Linked DNA regions of Homo sapiens: all the other regions are linked to region 3. Evidence: promoter capture Hi-C in human tissues and cell types (Jung and others, 2019). All regions are on one chromosome and are shown on one strand. Each heading gives the region's core, a stretch centred on a gene start or on the middle of the fragment in contact. The rest is flanking DNA. Distances are from core to core; before and after follow the strand shown.

Evidence for each region. Contacts are between HindIII fragments. The study calls those that stand out against the background at their distance.
Region 1: a contact is called between a fragment that was not itself captured here and the fragment with the promoter of AUTS2 in region 3, in 1 of the 25 tissues and cell types used here (dorsolateral prefrontal cortex).
Region 2: a contact is called between a fragment that was not itself captured here and the fragment with the promoter of AUTS2 in region 3, in 1 of the 25 tissues and cell types used here (lymphoblastoid cells).

What each region holds. Positions count from the first base shown.
Region 1 is chr7:69,911,418-69,914,117 of GRCh38, forward strand. All of the region lies in intron 2 of AUTS2 (activator of transcription and developmental regulator AUTS2), which reads left to right. Among named protein-coding and RNA genes, the nearest start is that of AUTS2, 310 kb to the left of the region's middle. The HindIII fragment of the contact is 4,625 bases long and covers 1-2,700 here.
Region 2 is chr7:70,059,219-70,061,918 of GRCh38, forward strand. All of the region lies in intron 2 of AUTS2 (activator of transcription and developmental regulator AUTS2), which reads left to right. Among named protein-coding and RNA genes, the nearest start is that of AUTS2, 460 kb to the left of the region's middle. The HindIII fragment of the contact is 5,023 bases long and covers 1-2,700 here.
Region 3 is chr7:69,597,163-69,599,862 of GRCh38, forward strand. AUTS2 (activator of transcription and developmental regulator AUTS2) reads left to right here and starts at 1,313. Exons shown (of 19, transcript NM_015570.4): 1 at 1,313-2,700. The coding sequence starts at 2,492. CT66 (cancer/testis associated transcript 66) reads right to left here and starts at 462. Exons shown (of 3, transcript NR_148927.1): 1 at 1-462. RefSeq lists enhancers at 483-562, 1,743-1,792 and silencers at 873-1,292, 1,313-1,392, 2,557-2,626. The HindIII fragment of the contact is 7,960 bases long and covers 1-2,700 here.

The DNA.
Region 1 (2,700 bases), core at 102-2,601, 310 kb after region 3:
GCGAGCAGGGGGGAAAGTGTGTTTCAGCCCTGTTTGTGTTACAGCTCATCAGTGCTGCCATTCAACAGGTCTCGAGTTCATGTCCCATGCCTAGGAAGAATGAGGTACAGCAGACAACTGGAGTGTGAGCAAGGCAGAGAGGAGCTTTATTTGATCCACAGAACAGCTCCCAGGAGACCTCAAGTGGGTAACTCCTTTCCACAGGCAGGTCATCCCTATGAGTGTCCAGCTCTCAGTGGAGAGGCGAGCCGCAGTGGTAGCTCCTTTCTGCAGCTGGTAGTCCGATGTCTGTTTGAGCCTGGCTGAGTCTCGGGTTTTTATGTGCTTAGAAGGGAAGAAGTACATGTTGATTGGTCCATGGGCAGGCCTGGAAAAAGCACCATCCGATTGGCCAAATGGTCATCAATGAAGTCTTCACTCTGGGCGGCAGACTCCACCGGGAACTGGCACCCTGGCCGCTAGGCTTCAGGTTGTCCCTGGCTTGAAGGTGGAATTTCACTGGGGACCTGTCCCTTTCTGCCCTGAAACCTGTCTGCCTCCCACCATCAATGTGCCATCCATGGCACTCAGGCTGTTGATGCCAAGGGACACCTGTAGGCCCACGCTGAGCCACCTTCAGTCCTACCTTGGCCTCCCTCTTGTGCTCATGGGTGCCCAAAATCTGGAGGGGGTGCTGAGGTGGCAGGGGGCTGGCGTGTCAATGCCACCCGAGTGCATGCATGCCTGGCCAGGTTGTGACAGCACTCAGGCTTAGCCTCAATTTTCCTCTGAAATCAGAGTGGGCTCCAGGTATGGGGAGAAGCCAGGTATGGGGAGAGGCCAGGTAGCGAGAGTAGGCACTTCCAAGACTGCTCGGGCAGGGGCACTTCCCCAGGCGCCTGAGAGCTCAGGGATGCCTGGGTCTGGAGCCACAGCTGGGCAGCTGCATGTGTGCCCAGGAGCATGAATCTCCCTCTCTGCCAACTCAGTGGAGGGTGGGGCTCCTGCCTGTTCCTGGCCCCAGCCGGCTCCTCAGAGCATACAGCCCCGGCTGCAGCCAGCATCTTGGCAGCGGCTGCTCCAGACAGGCTGCCACTGCCATCACTGGGACCATGTAGGGAGTATATTAGGGCTGCCCCATGGTTCTCCAGATAGACTAAGGAGACAAATTGACATAGTACAGTATTAGAAGGAAAGAATATGGAGTTTAAAAACCGTTTTCATGGTCATTCTGCCCCTGCTCTTCTCTTCCCCCTTTCAAACTGAGCAGACCCATATTTCTCCTTTCATCTCTGTCCTTGAGCCTACCTTCAGCTCTTTGGCTTTCATTTTACTCCCTCCTTCCACCCAGTGTCTTTTGCTAGCTTCTTGACCCAGCCAGGATTGCATGGGACATCACTTAGATCTGCTCTCAGAGTCACAAAATGCCTTTGCTTCCTGTTTCCTTGTTCCTTTTACTGTGCTGGTTCTTTTCGGTAAACTTTTAGATTTATCATCTCTAGATTAGTGCAGCATTATTTAGCTCATTGCTATTGTACTCTGGTTTAAAAAATTTCAGTGACCATCCACAGCCATCTAAATAAGATTGAAGCCTCTTAGTATAGGACATTTTAGGCCCTGACTAATCCTGCTGCAATGTACCTTCCCAGTTGCCTTTCCCACTCTCTGTAAACACCAAGCTGCAACTACAACTGCTATTTGGATGAACCCTGTGTTTTCTCCACATTCCTGTGCCTGTGCTTTGGCTATTTTCTTTGTTTAGAATATTCTTTTTTGACATATTTGTCTTCCATTGACTAGTTCAGACCCACTTCTTCCTTGAAGTTTTTATGATCTTTTTCCTTGTAAGTAATTGCATTGTCTTCCCAACTCTTATGATCCTTTGTTTATAACAAGGGTCACCCCAGAATTTATCAGCTAATTTAGGACATTACTGGGAATGAAAGGGGGAACCATTAATAATTACCTTGGAACAATAAGCATTAATCAGGACTTCCTGAAAAACTGGGATATATAGTCACTCTGTAATTCACTTTTGGCCTTTTTCATACCATACTCTGTTTTGAGTTGGAGGTATACATTTTCTTCTTTCCACTGAAATGTTGAGCTCCTCGAGGACCTCACTGTGTGACACAGCAAGGGGCCTAGGCTTATGTCACATATTGGGAAACAACACCCTTAAAACCACTGCTATCCTTTACTCGAGGATACCCTTCTCATATTTATAGTTTCCATTCATGTCTCTTTCCAGTCTTTTCTCCATATGCTAGCCAGAGTGATCTTTTAAAAATATACATATGATCATATTATTCCCACAAGTAAATCCTCTCAACTGCTTCTCAGGGTATTCAGATTGAAAATCAGACTCCCATCATCTGCAGTGCCCAGTTATCCAGTGCTGTTTCTTCAGCTTCATGTCATGCTTCCCTTGCTTACTGGCTCCAGCTCCCGACCTTCCATTCCCTCCCACATGCCAAGTTCCTTCGTACCCTGGACACCTTATGCTATCCTCTTTGGAAGAAATGGTTCCCCCTCTGTTTTTTGAATGATGAGATCCTTCTAGTCCTTTAGGCTTGAACTGAAATGTCATCTTTCATAGGGGCTTTTCTCGACCATATGGTTTATTTAACTCAGGATCTGCCATTTGTCTTCTGTGTTTTGCACTCACCTTTTTAACTTCCTAACACCACATTTATAATTATAGATTTTTCTTTCTATGTC
Region 2 (2,700 bases), core at 130-2,629, 460 kb after region 3:
GCCTTCGCAAGAATGTCATACAGTTGGAATCATACTATATATATGTAGCCTTTCAGATTGGCTTCTTTCACTTAGTTATTATACATTTAAGGTCCTCCGTGTCTTTTAATGGCTTAATAGCTCATTTCTTCTTAGCACTGAGTAGTACATTGCCTGGATGTTCCACAGTTTATTTTTCCATTCACCTAATCTTGGTTGCTTCCAAGTTTTGTCAATTATGGGAAAAAGCTACTGTAAACATTTATGCGCAGATTTCTGTGTGGAGATCTTAACATTCACATTGGTTACTTTTTTTAAATTTCAGATTTATCAATATTACAGAGCTATTGCAAGAGTCATATGAGAATCGAGGATCTGGAAATTCTGTATGAAAGAGGTGCCATCTGAGTAGGGCCTTAAAGGATGCGCTGATTTGGACACATAGATTGGAGGAGGTACATCGTACTGTGGCTGGCACAGTATGTGATTTTCTGTTTGATTGGAGTTCATGGTAAATGTAGGAACACGGTGTTATGTTTTCGATGCCTTCGATGCTAGGCTAAAGAAGATAGGCTTCCTTAGTGAGGCCATAGGAACCCATGGCAGATTTTTGAGGTAGGAAGTGATAAGTAATGTCACTCATTTATTTAAGCAGCTAGTCAAGCTCGCTTAGTTCCAAATAGCTGCTTGACCTTGCCTAGTTCCAAATAATTGACTTAAAATTAACAAGTTGACATTTATTAAACAGTACTTTTTACAGTTTAATTGTTCACCACTTTAGACTAAATTTTTTCTACAGGTGGTGCAAGTTAATTAGATTTTCTTATAATGAGAAAGAAAAGCATTTCAGTACAGTGTCTTCTGTTCTGATATTCAAGGTCATTTCCTATATAAAAGTAAAATTCTACACAGCATAAAACCATCCTTTTTGACATTTAGGGACCATAGGTTTTAATAACATTGAACAAAGGGTTAAATTTTTTAAAAAGTTTTTGTACACTCTTTCTTTGGTATGCTTCATCTCTTTCATTTGAGCTGAACAGCTTTAAATTTCACTTAAAGAAATGCTAGATAAAGAGAAGAACATTGTATAAGGGCAACTAAGTGAACAGGAAGCTGTGCTTCTCAGAATGGGGAGATTTTAAAATAGAGGAGAAAGCTGTCAAAGCAAAAGTATAGCAGCCTCAGCTTTACTTGGGAATTTATTAGAAATGCAGATTGTTAGACTCTACCCCAGAAGTCCTGTGGGCGGGGCTGGCAATCTGTGTTGTAAGCGAGAAAGACTAATCTAAACCACTGATCAAGGGAGGGGGATGTTAAGACTTACTGCAGAAAAGAGGTGAGAAATTGTACTAACAGTTACTGTTAATTCAACACTTACTTTGTAATGCACATTTTACAGATACAGCTTATGTAATCTTTTATGTCAACCCTAGGAAGTATAATATTACAATATCTTACTATATAGATGAGCAGAAAAGAATGGTTTAAGAAGTAGCATTGCAAAACTTCCGGCATGGAAGGTGTCTTTGACTCTATACTCTGACCTCTTTAAATCGTGCTAGGCCATGCAGGTATGTTGTTTGTCTCCCAGAAGGCAGCGGTGGGGCTAAGGCAGCACCCACCTCTCTGCTCCCTCTGCTGCATTCCCCAGCCTCCCTGACTGAGGTAGGTATTTCTTCCTTCCTGCATCCAGGTGGAGCCTGCCTGGTCCAGTGAAGGAAGCAGAACAGGAATGGCAGGAAACCAGCTTTTTCTGTTTCTCTGGAGTTCTCTTAACAAACCCTGTGACCCTAGGCCTGTCTCTTGGTATCTCTATGCCTTATTTATTTTCAGCGGTAAAATGAGGACTGGGATAAATCTGTAGGTTCTTTCTGAATTTTATCTGGCTCTAGCACTTAATTAGAGACAGATGGTCAAACTAGGTGACCTCTCAAGGGTTCATTCTGGTTCGTGTTGAGAGGAGTTTGATATTGGAAATAATAGATTCTTGTTTATGTGCGAAATGGAGACAGTACTTTCTGGAAATGGTGTGATGCAAAGTGAAATCATGTCTGTGAAGTCCCTAGTAGCCTGCCTGGCATACATGGAAGGTGCTCAGTAAATGGTAGTTCCTCAGTCCCCAAGAGGAAAACAGCCGCATTCCTGATTCTGGTGTTTTCTTTCCTTAAGTTTTAACAGGTTAGTATTTTAATTTTCCTCTCAAGGAGGGAATAAGAGGTGCTAGGTTTGTATTAAAATATTAAGTTAATTAAAGCTTCCTATTAAAATTTTAAGAGAGAGGAAGAGAATGGGGCAACATGACCACAATAAATAAAGCAAATAGGTCATTATGTTTCCAAATGGCATTATCCCTTGACTGTTGGTAGCTTTCCTAATAATAATAGGTTGAAAAAATGTTACTGTAACATAAATAATAAAAGATACTTATGGTAGTACTCTGCTAAGTACTATATAGACATGAGATACTTAATAACTTTTAATATCATGGTTTGGCAAAAGAAACTTCACAATGGATTAACTATTTATTTGGTGAACTTAACTTGGGGCAGGCTTGTGGGTGGAATTTAAGGGTTATTTCTTCTTTTTTTTTTTTTTGCTCCCCCGGAGACGGAGTTTCACTCTTGTTGCCCAGGCTGGACTGCAATGGCGTGATCTCAGGTCACTGGAACCTCTGCCTCCCGGGTTCAAGCAATTCTCCCACCTCAGCCTCCCGAGTAG
Region 3 (2,700 bases), core at 63-2,562:
GAGCGGGCTGTCGGTCTTTCTGATCCGTATAGATCAATTCCAGTGCCCTGAAAAACGCACAGCTATTTTACCCAGAGAGGCTGGTCGCTTTTGTTGATCGATTCTCGGCTGCAGTCAGCTCTTTAATACAACTTTTTATGAGCATCAGCCACATTGCGGCGGGAGGAGGGGCTGTGGTGGAAAAAGCAGGGAAACCGCCCCCCACTCCCAAAAAGTAAAGGAAGCCCGCGGGGCAGGGACTGCGGTTTGCCGGTCTAACGGGTCCTCGAGCTGGGGCGGCGGTCCCGGCCCCTTCGGCCCCGCCCCTCGCCCGCGGCCGCCTCCGAGGTTCAAGTTCGGCCCCCGGCTGTTAGGCCTCGCGCTCCCGGATCTGAAGCCGCCCGTGCGTCCCTAGGTCCCCCGCTGGAAGACGAGGCGGGAATCCCAGGGGTCATCCGGGCGCGGGGTCGCTCGTCCACGCACTGTGGTGCCACGTGGAGGAAAAGTTTCCAACTCTGCCAGTTGGTGCTCCCACTGCGCCCAGGCGGAGCAAAGGCCCGCGCTTTGGCACCCGCTCCCCGTTCTGTCTCCTCCAGTCGCGCCCCCTCCCAGGGACGCCCCCCTTGTACCCCTTCTCTGAATTCCCTTCTCTCCTCGCAGCGCAGGTAGCCAAGGGAAAACACCCTTGGGGGCTGGTGGGGCTTCCCGAGAAGGCGGCCTCGGGCCGGCCAGGGGTAGAGGATCCAGGGACAAGTGTCCCGAGGAGGATGTGGGGGGCGCGCGCGCGAAGTGGCCTGGGAGCAGGGGCCCACACGCGTCCCCGCTGCGACAGGCGGGATCCTCCGGCGGCTTCCACGCCCTGGCGCGCCAACTCTGCCCGGCCGCGGCCGACCCCACGCGGGCGCCCCCTCCACGCCCCCGCCCCCGCCCCCCTCACAGCTCCCCACCGCCCCCAGTGCGCAGGCCCGGCCGCCCCAGCGCGCATGCCCTGGGCTCGCGAGCGCGGCCAGCCCCCAGCCTTTTGCTTTCTACACACTCTACAACTGGGGAGGGGGCGGGGGAGGAGGGAGCCCAGCCGTCCACGTGATCCCGCCGGCCGGGGCCGCGGGGGCGGGAGCGCGCGCCGAGAGAGGCGCGGGGAGGGCGGGTGCGCGGGAGCGCGCGCACTCGAGCGAGCGAGCGAAAGCACGAACGAGCGAGCGAGCGAGCGAGCGAGCGGGCGGGCGCGGGGTTGGGCTGAGGCGGGCGGCGGCGGCGGCGGCGGCGGTGGGCTGGCCGCGGAGGGGGAGGAGCGGGAGCTGCGCGAGGCAGGCGGGCGGGCGGAGGATGGGGCAGTGCCCGGGCTCCCGCTGCAGCCGCCCGGGGACACGCCGTGCACCCTCCGGCTCGGGGCTTTCTCGGCGGCGGCGGCGGCAGCAGCAGCAGCGTTAGCGGCGGCGGCGAGAGCAGCGTTCCCGGCTGCGCTTCTCCCTCAGGCGGGGCGGCGAGAGAAGCGGCGGCGGCGGCGGCGGCACACCGGTGTCTCTCCCGCTGGAGATTTCTTTCTGCTTTCCTCATCGACTGACTGACTCACCCCCTCCCTTTTTTGAGGAAGGGTGACCTCTTCTCTGGGACTGGAAAAAATATTTTTGTGAGGAGGGGGGCGGGTGGCAGCGACAGGGTTTGCTTCTTCTCTTCTTTCATCTCCCTCTCCTCCCCCCTCGAAGACCGAAAAGCAAACCCCACAACTGCTCCAGCAGCATCCTCCTTCCCTTCCTCCGCCTCCCTTCTCCTCCGCCGCTCGCAGTTTCGCCCTCTCTTCCGCTAATGATTGCATTATTATGCTCCCCTCTCTGGGGGGTCTCGCCCCTCTTGGGTCGCTCCGGAGCCCCGGCCTCCCCTGGCTGCATTTCTTAAAAATTTGGGAGCCTGGGAGTGAGTTTTCTCCGAGGCGTGTGTGAGAGGCGGCGGGGGTGTTTTCCTGCGCGAGGGGCGGGTGAAGTTCATTGCCCCCACTTTTCCCGCGACCTTTTTCGGACCCGATTTTGGATCGAGTTGAGGGGGGCGCGGGCGTTTTCGGGGGGCGGGGGGCGCGGCGGAGAATGGCCGCGGGGAGGGCTCCCCGGAGCCTCCCAGTCTCTTGATCAAAGCATTCCGCTATTCTGATTTATTGCTTGCTTGGTGAGTTATTTTTTTTTCCTCTAAAGGAGACCTGTGTGTTCAGCCATTACTTTGCTCGGCGCTGCTCCCAGGCATCTCCGACCCTCGGTGCTGTGGGGAGCCCCACACTTGGGCTCCTCGCCTCTCGCCCTCGCTCCCCGTCCCTCCTCCCCTCTCTCCGCCCCTTCCCCCTTTTCTTTCTCCTCTCTTTCTTCCCCTCTCTCCCTTCTTTCGGCCGCCGTCTCCCCCGCGCCCTCCTCGGGGCGGAGGGAAGCCGTGAAGGGGGAGGGAGGGCTCGGTGTCAATTTTTTTTTGTGTGGCTGCGGCCGTAGCCTGTGGCGGGCAAGCGGGGAGACCCCGGCGCAGCAGAACCATGGATGGCCCGACGCGGGGCCATGGACTCCGCAAAAAGCGGCGGTCGCGGTCGCAGCGAGACCGGGAGAGGCGCTCCCGGGGCGGGCTGGGGGCCGGCGCGGCCGGCGGCGGCGGGGCTGGCCGGACCCGGGCGCTCTCACTCGCCTCGTCGTCGGGCTCCGACAAGGAAGACAATGGGAAGCCCCCGTCCTCCGCCCCGTCCCGGCC